3 separate regions of the Homo sapiens genome follow, and regions 1 and 2 are each linked to region 3. The links are contacts of gene promoters, found by promoter capture Hi-C in blood cells and fetal thymus (Javierre and others, 2016). All regions are on one chromosome and are shown on one strand. The core of a region is centred on a gene start or on the middle of the fragment in contact, and the rest is flanking DNA. Distances in the headings are between cores, read along the strand shown.

Region 1 (2,700 bases), core at 112-2,611, 260 kb after region 3:
ATACAAAAATTAGCTGGGCATGGTGGCACACAACTGTAATCCCAGCTGCTCGGGAGGCTGAGGCAGGAGAATCACTTGAACCCGGGAAGCGGAGGTTGCAGTAAGCCAAGATCACGCCATTGCACTGCAGCCTGGGTGACAAGAGCGAAACTCCATCTCCAAAAAAAAAAAAAAAAGTTGGAGTGAACATGCCTGCAAAATCTTCTGGGCCTGTAATCTTTTTCGTGTAGCAGATTTTGAGTACTTTGTCTTCACTATGATGGTGAAAGCAGCAACTCTCGGAGTCAAGTACAAGCCACTGTTATGAGCAGCTTCGGAGTATTGATTCTTTTGGTCTCCACACTAACCCTATAGCCTGCATTCTTACAGACTGAGGATAAAGCACAGGGAGCTGGAAAGACACAGTGCAGGTCTCACAGCGAATTCACTGAGGGGCCAGGATTGGGAACCAGGAAATCTGCCACCAAAAGCCGTGTTCTTAAGCACTAGGTGGACAACACTGCCTCCCATCGACCGTTAGTAGCAATTCAATCTTTTTACCTGCTGGAGTCACTTGTTAATCACTTACCTTTCTCTTAACAAATCATTTTTATTTTCGACATAGAAGCTAACTTGAAGGAGCGCCCACTGGCCCAGAGTGGTACAACTTAAACATCAAAAATATTAATAACGGCCAGGCGCGGTGGCTCACTCCTGTAATCCCAGGACTTTGGGAGGCTGAGGCAGGTAAATCAATTGAGGTCAGGAGTTCGAGACCAGCCCGGCCAACATGGTGAAACCTCGTCTCTACTAAAAATATAAAAATTAGCCAGCCGTGGTGACAGTCACCTGTAATCCCAGCTACTCGGGAGGCTGATGCAGGAGAATCGCTTAGAGCTCGGGAGTCGGAGGTTGTAGTGAGCCGAGATGGCGCCATTGCACTCCAGCCTGGGCAACAAGAGCAAAACTCCGTCTCAAATAATAATAATAATAATAATAGTAATAACAATAATAGATTTAAACACACCAAATATATATCATATTTAATGATGAAGGATGGAATACTTTCCCTATAAGATCAACAACAAGGAAAGGATGTCTGCTCTTGACACTCCTATTTGACATAGTGCTGGAAGTTCTAGTCACTGCAAGAAAAAAACGCAAACAGGGCCCGGCGCAGTGGCTGACGTCTGTAATCCTAACACTTTGGGAGGCAGGAGGATCACTTGAGACTAGGATGTCAAGACCAGCCTAGGCAACACAGCATGACCCCATCTCTACAAAAAATATTAAAAAATTAGCCAAGCATGGTGGCACATGCCTGTAGTCCTACCTGCTCAGGGGGCTGAGGCAGGGAGATCACTTGAGCCCAGGACTTTGAGACTGCAGTGAGCTATGATCACACCAACACTGCACTCCAGCCTGAGGAATAGAGTGAGACTCTGTCTCAAAAAAGAAAAAAAGGCATTTAGATTGGAAAGGAAGAAATAAAACTGTATCTGCAGGTGACATGAGATATGTGTGTGTGTGTGTGTCTGTGTGTGTAGTTGATGCAAAAATAATTGCGGTTTTTGCCATTGAAAGGAATGACTGCTGGGCATGGTGGCTCACGCCTGTAATCCCAGCACTTTGGGAGGGTTTTTTTTTTTTTTTTTTTTTTTGAGATGGAGTCTCACTCTGTCACCCAAGCTGGAGTGCAGTGGTGTGGTCTCGGCTCACTGCCAGCTCCGCCTCCCGGGTTCACGCCATTCTCCTGTCTCAGCCTCCCGAGTAGCCGGGACTACAGGCACCCGCCACCACGCCCAGCTAAATTTTTGTATTTTTAGTAGAGACGGGGTTTCACCTTGTTAGCCAGGATGGGCTCGATCTCCTGACCTCGGGATCTGCCCTCCTCAACCTCCCAAAGTGCTGGGATTACAGGCATGAGCCACCGTGCCTGGCGTTTTTCTTTTCGTTTTTTTTTTTTCTTTTTTTTTTTTTTTTGGAGATAGAGTCTCACTCTGTCACCCAGGCTGGAGTGCAGTGGTGTGATCTTGGCTCACTGCAACTTCCACCTCCTGGGTTCAAGCGATTCTCCTGCCTCAGTCTCCCTAGTAGCTGGGATTACAGGCGCCCACCACCATGCCCAGCTAATTTTTGTATTTTTAGTAGAGACGGGGTCTCACCATGTTGGCCAGGCTGGTCTTGAACTCCTGACCTTAGGTGATCCACCTACCTCAGCCTCTCAAAGTGCTGGGATTACAGGCGTGAGCCACAGCCCTGGACGGATGTATTTTCAATACATGTCTTTATAATGCATGTGAAAGCTAACGCATACATGGGAGACAATGAAGGGACCAATATGGTGGAAGTTTTCCATATTCCACTTGAAGTTGCAAAATATTCAATCTAGGTAGACTATAGAATGTTTAAGTGTGTTTACCATAATCCGTAGAGCAATCACTTAAAACTTGCAAAGATATATAGTGAAAATCACAATAAATAAATTAAAATGGAGTACTAAAATAGTATTTGAATAATCCAAAAGAAAGAAGGAAAAGGGAAAACAAGGAACAAAACACAGAAAAGTGGAAATAAAAAACAAATAATAGTAGACCTAAAGCAAAACATACCAATAATCATATTTAAGGCACATGATCTAAACACACAAGTTATAAAATATTTTCATAATGCACTTAAAAAAAAAATAGCCAGAGCCGGGCGCGTTGGCTCACACCTGTA
Region 2 (3,004 bases), core at 475-2,974, 260 kb before region 3:
CAGAGTAAAGTGAAAGCAAGTTGATTAAGAAAGTAAAGGAATAAAAGAATGGCTACTCCATAGACAGAGCAGCCCCGAGGGTTGCTGGTTGCCCATTGTTATGGTTATTTCTTGATTTAGTCTTGATTTATTATTTAGTTATGCTAAACAAGGGGTGGATTATTGACGCCTCCCCTTTTTAGACCATATAGGATAACTTCCCAACATTGCCACGGCATTTGTAAATTGTCATAGCGCTGGTGGGGGTGTAGCAGTGAGGACAATCAGAGGTCACTTTCATGGCCATCTTGGTTTTGGTGGGTTTTCCCGACTTCTTTACTGCAGTCTGTTTTATCAGAAAGGTCTTTATGACCTGTATCTTGTGCCGACCTCCTCTCTCATCCTCTGACTTAGAATGCCTTAATTTACCGGGAATGCGGGCCAGCAGGTCTCCGCCTTACTTTACCCAGGTCCTATTTAAGATGGAGTTGCTCTGGTTCAAACGCCTCTGACAGCCATTCTGAGTTCTGTCTGCACTGTTGCTTTGTTGGAGGAGTGGAGGGGCTGGGGAGATTGTGATTCACTCAACAGCCATTCACTGGTTTCCCTTGTATGCCAGGGGTCAGTGAGCCTCAGTTTCTCCTCCTGCTCCCAGCAACCTTGCCACTCACCCCAAAGAGCTAGGAAGATATTTAAAAAGAATAATAACAGTCACAAGGTTGCTTTCAGTTCCTGCCAGGGTCTCAGTCTTCAGAAAAGCTGAATATGAAAATTACTTCCATGTCATTGTGGTGCCGCTCAGAATCAGAAATATTTGACCCATCTTACAGAATTAGTGCAACTACATCAGGAACCCAAGCCAAGTTTTGCATTCCTATTTAGCATTTATATCTACATAGTCCTTTTCAAATATAGAAAAGCTTTCTGGATGTTAGTTGGAACAGATAGCTCCATATGTGGTTATAAGTTGGCATTCTCCCAGCTGGGTTGAAGGAGAAATGTACAGCTACTCTGCCACAACAGTTATTTCATACATAAAATCACAGCCATGATTAGCAATGATGGTGAAGGCTATTCATTTTATATTCAGAAATAATTATTGTGAACATTCAGATAGCAGCATAAGTAGGGAGATGGACTTTAGTTTCTGCATAAAAAGTAACACTGTTTCAATCCTGCAGTTATGAAGCGAGGAGCTGTTTTGGCTCTTGCTGCATGACATACCACCCAAAGCTAGTGGGTACAGTAAATGCTCATGGATTCTGCAGCTCAGAAAGTTGGACAGGGAACAGCAGGCACAGCTTGTCTCTGCTCCCTGATGACCAGGTCCTTAGCTAGAAAGCCTAAAGGAACAGGGACTGGAATAGGGAGGCTTCTTTTGTTTGTTTGTTTTGAAACAGGGTCCCACTCTGTCGCCCAGGCTGGAGTGCAGTGGTGTGATCATGGCTCACTAAAACTTCTACCACCTGGGCTCAATCGATCCTCCCAACTTAGCTTCCCAAGTAACTGGGACTACGGGTGTGTGCCACCATACCCAACTAATTTTATTTTTTTTTTGTAGAGATGGGACTGGTTGCCCAGGCTGGTCTTGAACTCCTGGGCTCAAGTGACCCTCCTGCCTCGGTATCCCAAAAGGAGGCTCTTTACTCACAAGTCTAGTATCCGGGCTGGGATCACTCAAAAGCTGAGCTCAGCTGGTACTGTGGACTCATTGTCTGGCTAACTTGGGCTTCCTTCCAATATGGCTACCCAAGGACATTTGAACTTCTCACGTGGTGGCTCATGGCTCCAGAGTGAGCATTCCAGCAGACACTGGCCTTTACACCCCAGCCTCATTTCTGCTCCACTCTGTCAGCTGAAGCAATCACAAACCTGTCCAGACCCTAGAGGAGGAGATGGAGACCCCACCCTTTGGTGGTGGAAGGCAGGTCAAAAAATTTGGGGCCACATCTTAAAACTGCCCTAGGAGCTTATGGACTATCGGAGCAAATTAACAGCTGACAAAGCAGAGAAATGATCCCTCAGTAAGGTGTTCAACCTGAAATATTTCCCTGCTAAAATTGTGGATAATAAAATTATGACAGTAATAACTTTTTAGAACACTTTCACATTTGTTCTTACATTACAGAAGTTCATTCTAAGAAGGTGATAGTCAGCTTTGGGCAAATCTTTAATTTAATACTTCACTAATTAGCATTTGGCCACAATGCCTGTTTCACTTCTAAATAATAATAATAATTTATATTAATAAACATATCCATGCATATTTTTGAGCACTTCCTATGTGACAGGTACTGTACTGAGAGTTTTATACATGTTACTTCAGTATTTCCCCAAATTCAGATGTTTGAAAGTGGCTGTCTTAATTTTTGCTATTCATTCATTCAAATAATATTTATTAAGCACCTATTATGTGCCAGACACTGTTCTAGGAATTGGAGAAATATAGGGGACAGGACAAACCAACTTTATGGAGCTTAGGGGCAAACAAATACCGCTGGTACTACTTGTATTGTTTTATTCAAATTATCTCTTTTCCTTTTGTGTGTGTGTGTGTGTGTCTTTTTTTTTTAAGCTTAGCCTTGACTTTATTTATGTATTATTTTTATTGATTTATTTATTTTGAGACCGGGTTATGAGACTGGCTAATTTTTGTATTTTTGATAGTGATGGGGTCTCGCTATGCTGCCCAGGCTGGTCTCAGACTCCTGGGCTCAAGCGATCCACCTGCCTTGGCCTCCCAAAGTGCTAGGATTACAGGCATGAGCCACTGTGCCCTGCCAGCCTTGACTTTAACAATAATGTTTATGAAACTGTGGGTTTGAGGCCGGGTGCAGTGGCTCATACCTGCAATCCCAGCACTTTGGGAGGCCGAGGCGGGTGGATCACGAGGTCAGGAGATTGAGACCATCCTGGCTAACACGGTGAAACCCCATCTCTACTAAAAATACAAAAAAATTAGCCAGGCATGGTGGCGGGTGCCTGTAGTCCCAGCTACTCAGGAGGCTGAGACAGGAGAATGGCG
Region 3 (2,913 bases), core at 414-2,913:
TTACTTTGTTGCCTGGGCTGGAGTGCAGTGGTGCTATCATGGCTGACTGAAGCCTTGAACTCCCAGGCTCAAGCGATCCTCCTGCCTCAGCCTCCCAAGTAGTTTGGACCACAGGCATGGGCCACCATGCCCAGCTACTTTTCATTTTTTGCTTTTGTTGACTAGCCCCACAGAGTTTTGCTGTGTTGTTCAGGTTGGTCTCAAACTTCTGGCCTTAAGCAATCCTCTTGCCTTGCTCTCCCAAAGCGTATTACAGGCATAAGTCACCACACCCAGCCCTATCGGTGCTTTTGGAAGAAGGTGTTCTTCCCTCTCTCTGTTTCCCTCCCTATGGCCAGCTGCCCATAGAGGGCAGTGGTGCTGGAGTGAAGACCTCTCAGCGCATCCCTCTTCATCTGTAGGATGTGCATGGCTTCCAATGCTGTCTGTTCTGCTCCTGAGACACTCGCTGGCTACAGGATTATAAAGGTGATGAGGTTTCAGCCTAAAGACTCTCCATTCAATAACACTTCCTACAAGATATCTTTTTTGTTTTTTTGAGACAGGATCTGGCTCTGTCACCCAGGCTGGAGTGCCACAGCGCGATCTGCTCACTGCAACCTCAGCCTCTCGGGCTTAAGTGATTCTCCTGCCTTAGCCTCCTGAGTAGCTGGGACCACAGGCGCCCGCCACCACACCCAGCTAATTTTTGGATTTTTTTTTTTTTTTTTTTTAGTAGAGATGGGGTTTTACCATGTTGCCCAAGCTGGTCTTGAACTCCTGAGCTCAGGCAATCCACCCGCCTTGGCCACCCAAAGCGCTAGGATTACAGGCATGAGCCACCATGCCCAGTCCTACAAGATATCTTTTCTTTTTCTTTCTTTCTTTCTTTCTTTCTTTTTTTTTTTTTGAGACAGAGTCTCACTCTGTCACCCAGGCTGGACTGCAGTGGTGTGATCTCTTCTCACTGCAGCCTCCGCCTCCTGGGCTCAAGTGATTCTCCTGCCTCAGCCCCCTGAGTAGCTGGGACTACAGGCGCCTGCCAAAACACTTAGCTAATTTTTTGTATTTTTAGTAGAGACGGAATTTCACCATGTTCGCCAGGCTGGTCTCGAATTCCTGACCTCAAGTGATCCACCCGCCTCAGCCTCCCAAAGTGTTGGGATTCCAGGCATGAGCCACCGCACCCGGCCGAGATATCTTTTTCCTCCTCAATATCTATGTGCTCCTCCCTCAACCCTTGGGGGCTTCAGTGTAGGTGGTCAGATTCCCCACCATTTATGCCTATGATGAAAAGAGTGGAAATGGTAATAACTGGATGGTGTCACTAAACTACAAATACTTTCAGGTAGGCCTGTGCCTTTTTCAGCGGGCTGCAGTTCTCCTGCTTGGCTTGAGTCATTCGCATTTCCTGAGAGCTGGGTAGAGGGGGAGTTGTGGAGGAGCCCATTCTGAAACTGATCTGATATTGCAAACCCATACACGGAAAGGAAGAACTGCCCATACGTATTCGAGTCTTCCAATCTGACTCCGAGCCCGCATCCCCCTCAATCGTCTCTTTTCCCCACTCCCCAGATCACGGTGCTGCTTGGTCCCCCTCAGAGCCATAGAGAAGCAGGGGGTGTGGCCATGGAGGGGAAACCTCTGTCACCAGAGACTTTACTGTACTTCTCCTTTTGCTCTCAGATGCTGCCAGGGTCCCTGAAGAGGGAAGACACGCGGAAACAGGTAAAAATCATTTTGCTTTTATTTTGCATTCAACAAGCAAGTTATTACGGAACAGCAGTTATGGGCCAGGCATACCTCCCAGAGCTGGGAACACAGTGGGGACCTCCCTGGCTCTCTCTTACCGGTGTTACAACAGGTTGTAGACAGACCCCTGTCTTGAGCATCCTCCTTGCCAGGCCTGCTGAGTCTTCTGAGAGTAGGGTAGGTTATTGGATGCCCAGGAGGGAAGAAGGAGCCAGGGAGGTCAGCCCCAAGGTTCTGCAAGGCCCTCAACAGGCCTGGACTGAGGAGGTCTGGACAGCATGGCCCTGTCCTGAGCCTCTGTGCATAATAACTGCTGTCCCTAACCTCCACCCCACCCTCAGCCTTCCAATTCCCGGGCCTGGGGCCCTACTCCTGTGCTCCAGAGACTCCTGGAGCTCCTTGAGGCAGCACACAGTCCTGCTCTGGAGGCGCCCATCTCCCACTCATGCTGGGATGCTCCAGCCCGTCCCAGAGCAGGTTGTGGCTGGAGGGTGCTGGCAGAGGAGGGACAATGGCCCGGCTCCTGGAGGCAAGTGTTGGCTGCAGGGAACGGAGTCTAGTCCTTGCCACAGCCCTTGTTACCCCTTAGGTAACCTTAAGGGGATTTCAAAGAACTCTGGCTCTGCAACCCTGCTAAGTTTTTTATGGAACATGTAAAATAGATCCCATGGCCAAAGAAGTATGGACAATGTATTATACTATACTCTAATCCCCATGTCTAGAGATTAATGGTGTAGATAGAGTTTACTGAAAGGTTTTTAAAGTCCTGCAGTAAAGAATCTTACTTAAGCCAGGTGCGGTGGCTCACGCCTGTCATCTCAGCACTTTGGGAGGCCAAGTTGGGGGGATCACCTGAGGTCAGGAGTTTGAAACCAGCCTGGCCAACATGGTGAAACCCCATCTCTACTAAAACAAACAAACAAACAAACAAATCAGACGGGTGTGGTGGCACATGCCTATAGTCCCAGCTACTCAGGAGGCTGAGGCAGGAGAATCACTTGAACCCTGGAGGCAGAGGATGCAGTGAACTGAGATCACACCACTGCACTTCAGCCTGGGCGACAGAAGAATGAGACTCTGTCTCAAAAGAAAAAAAAAGAATCTTACTTAACTCTTTTACCCTGCCTTTCTCAAGTGTATGTGACCTTGAAGATGTTTTTTGCATGTGACATGATGAGTACC

Evidence for each region. The method cuts DNA at HindIII sites, captures the fragments that hold promoters and counts their contacts. A CHiCAGO score of 5 or more calls a contact.
Region 1: a fragment that was not itself captured here is called in contact with the fragment with the promoter of CD22 in region 3 in 1 of 17 cell types (M1 macrophages); the score reaches 5.3 in M1 macrophages.
Region 2: a fragment that was not itself captured here is called in contact with the fragment with the promoter of CD22 in region 3 in 4 of 17 cell types (total B cells, non-activated CD4 T cells, total CD4 T cells and 1 more); the score reaches 7.2 in total B cells.

Annotation. Positions count from the first base shown.
Region 1 is chr19:35,591,955-35,594,654 of GRCh38, forward strand. No RefSeq gene overlaps it. Among named protein-coding and RNA genes, the nearest start is that of LINC01766, 4.6 kb to the right of the region's middle. The HindIII fragment of the contact is 9,877 bases long and covers 1-2,700 here.
Region 2 is chr19:35,068,960-35,071,963 of GRCh38, forward strand. All of the region lies in intron 3 of HPN-AS1 (HPN antisense RNA 1), which reads right to left. Among named protein-coding and RNA genes, the nearest start is that of HPN, 29 kb to the left of the region's middle. RefSeq lists an enhancer at 1-287 and a silencer at 1,672-1,872. The HindIII fragment of the contact is 1,655 bases long and covers 898-2,552 here.
Region 3 is chr19:35,327,524-35,330,436 of GRCh38, forward strand. CD22 (CD22 molecule) reads left to right here and starts at 1,664. Exons shown (of 14, transcript NM_001771.4): 1 at 1,664-1,707. RefSeq lists enhancers at 2,241-2,290, 2,361-2,410. The HindIII fragment of the contact is 19,927 bases long and covers 1-2,913 here.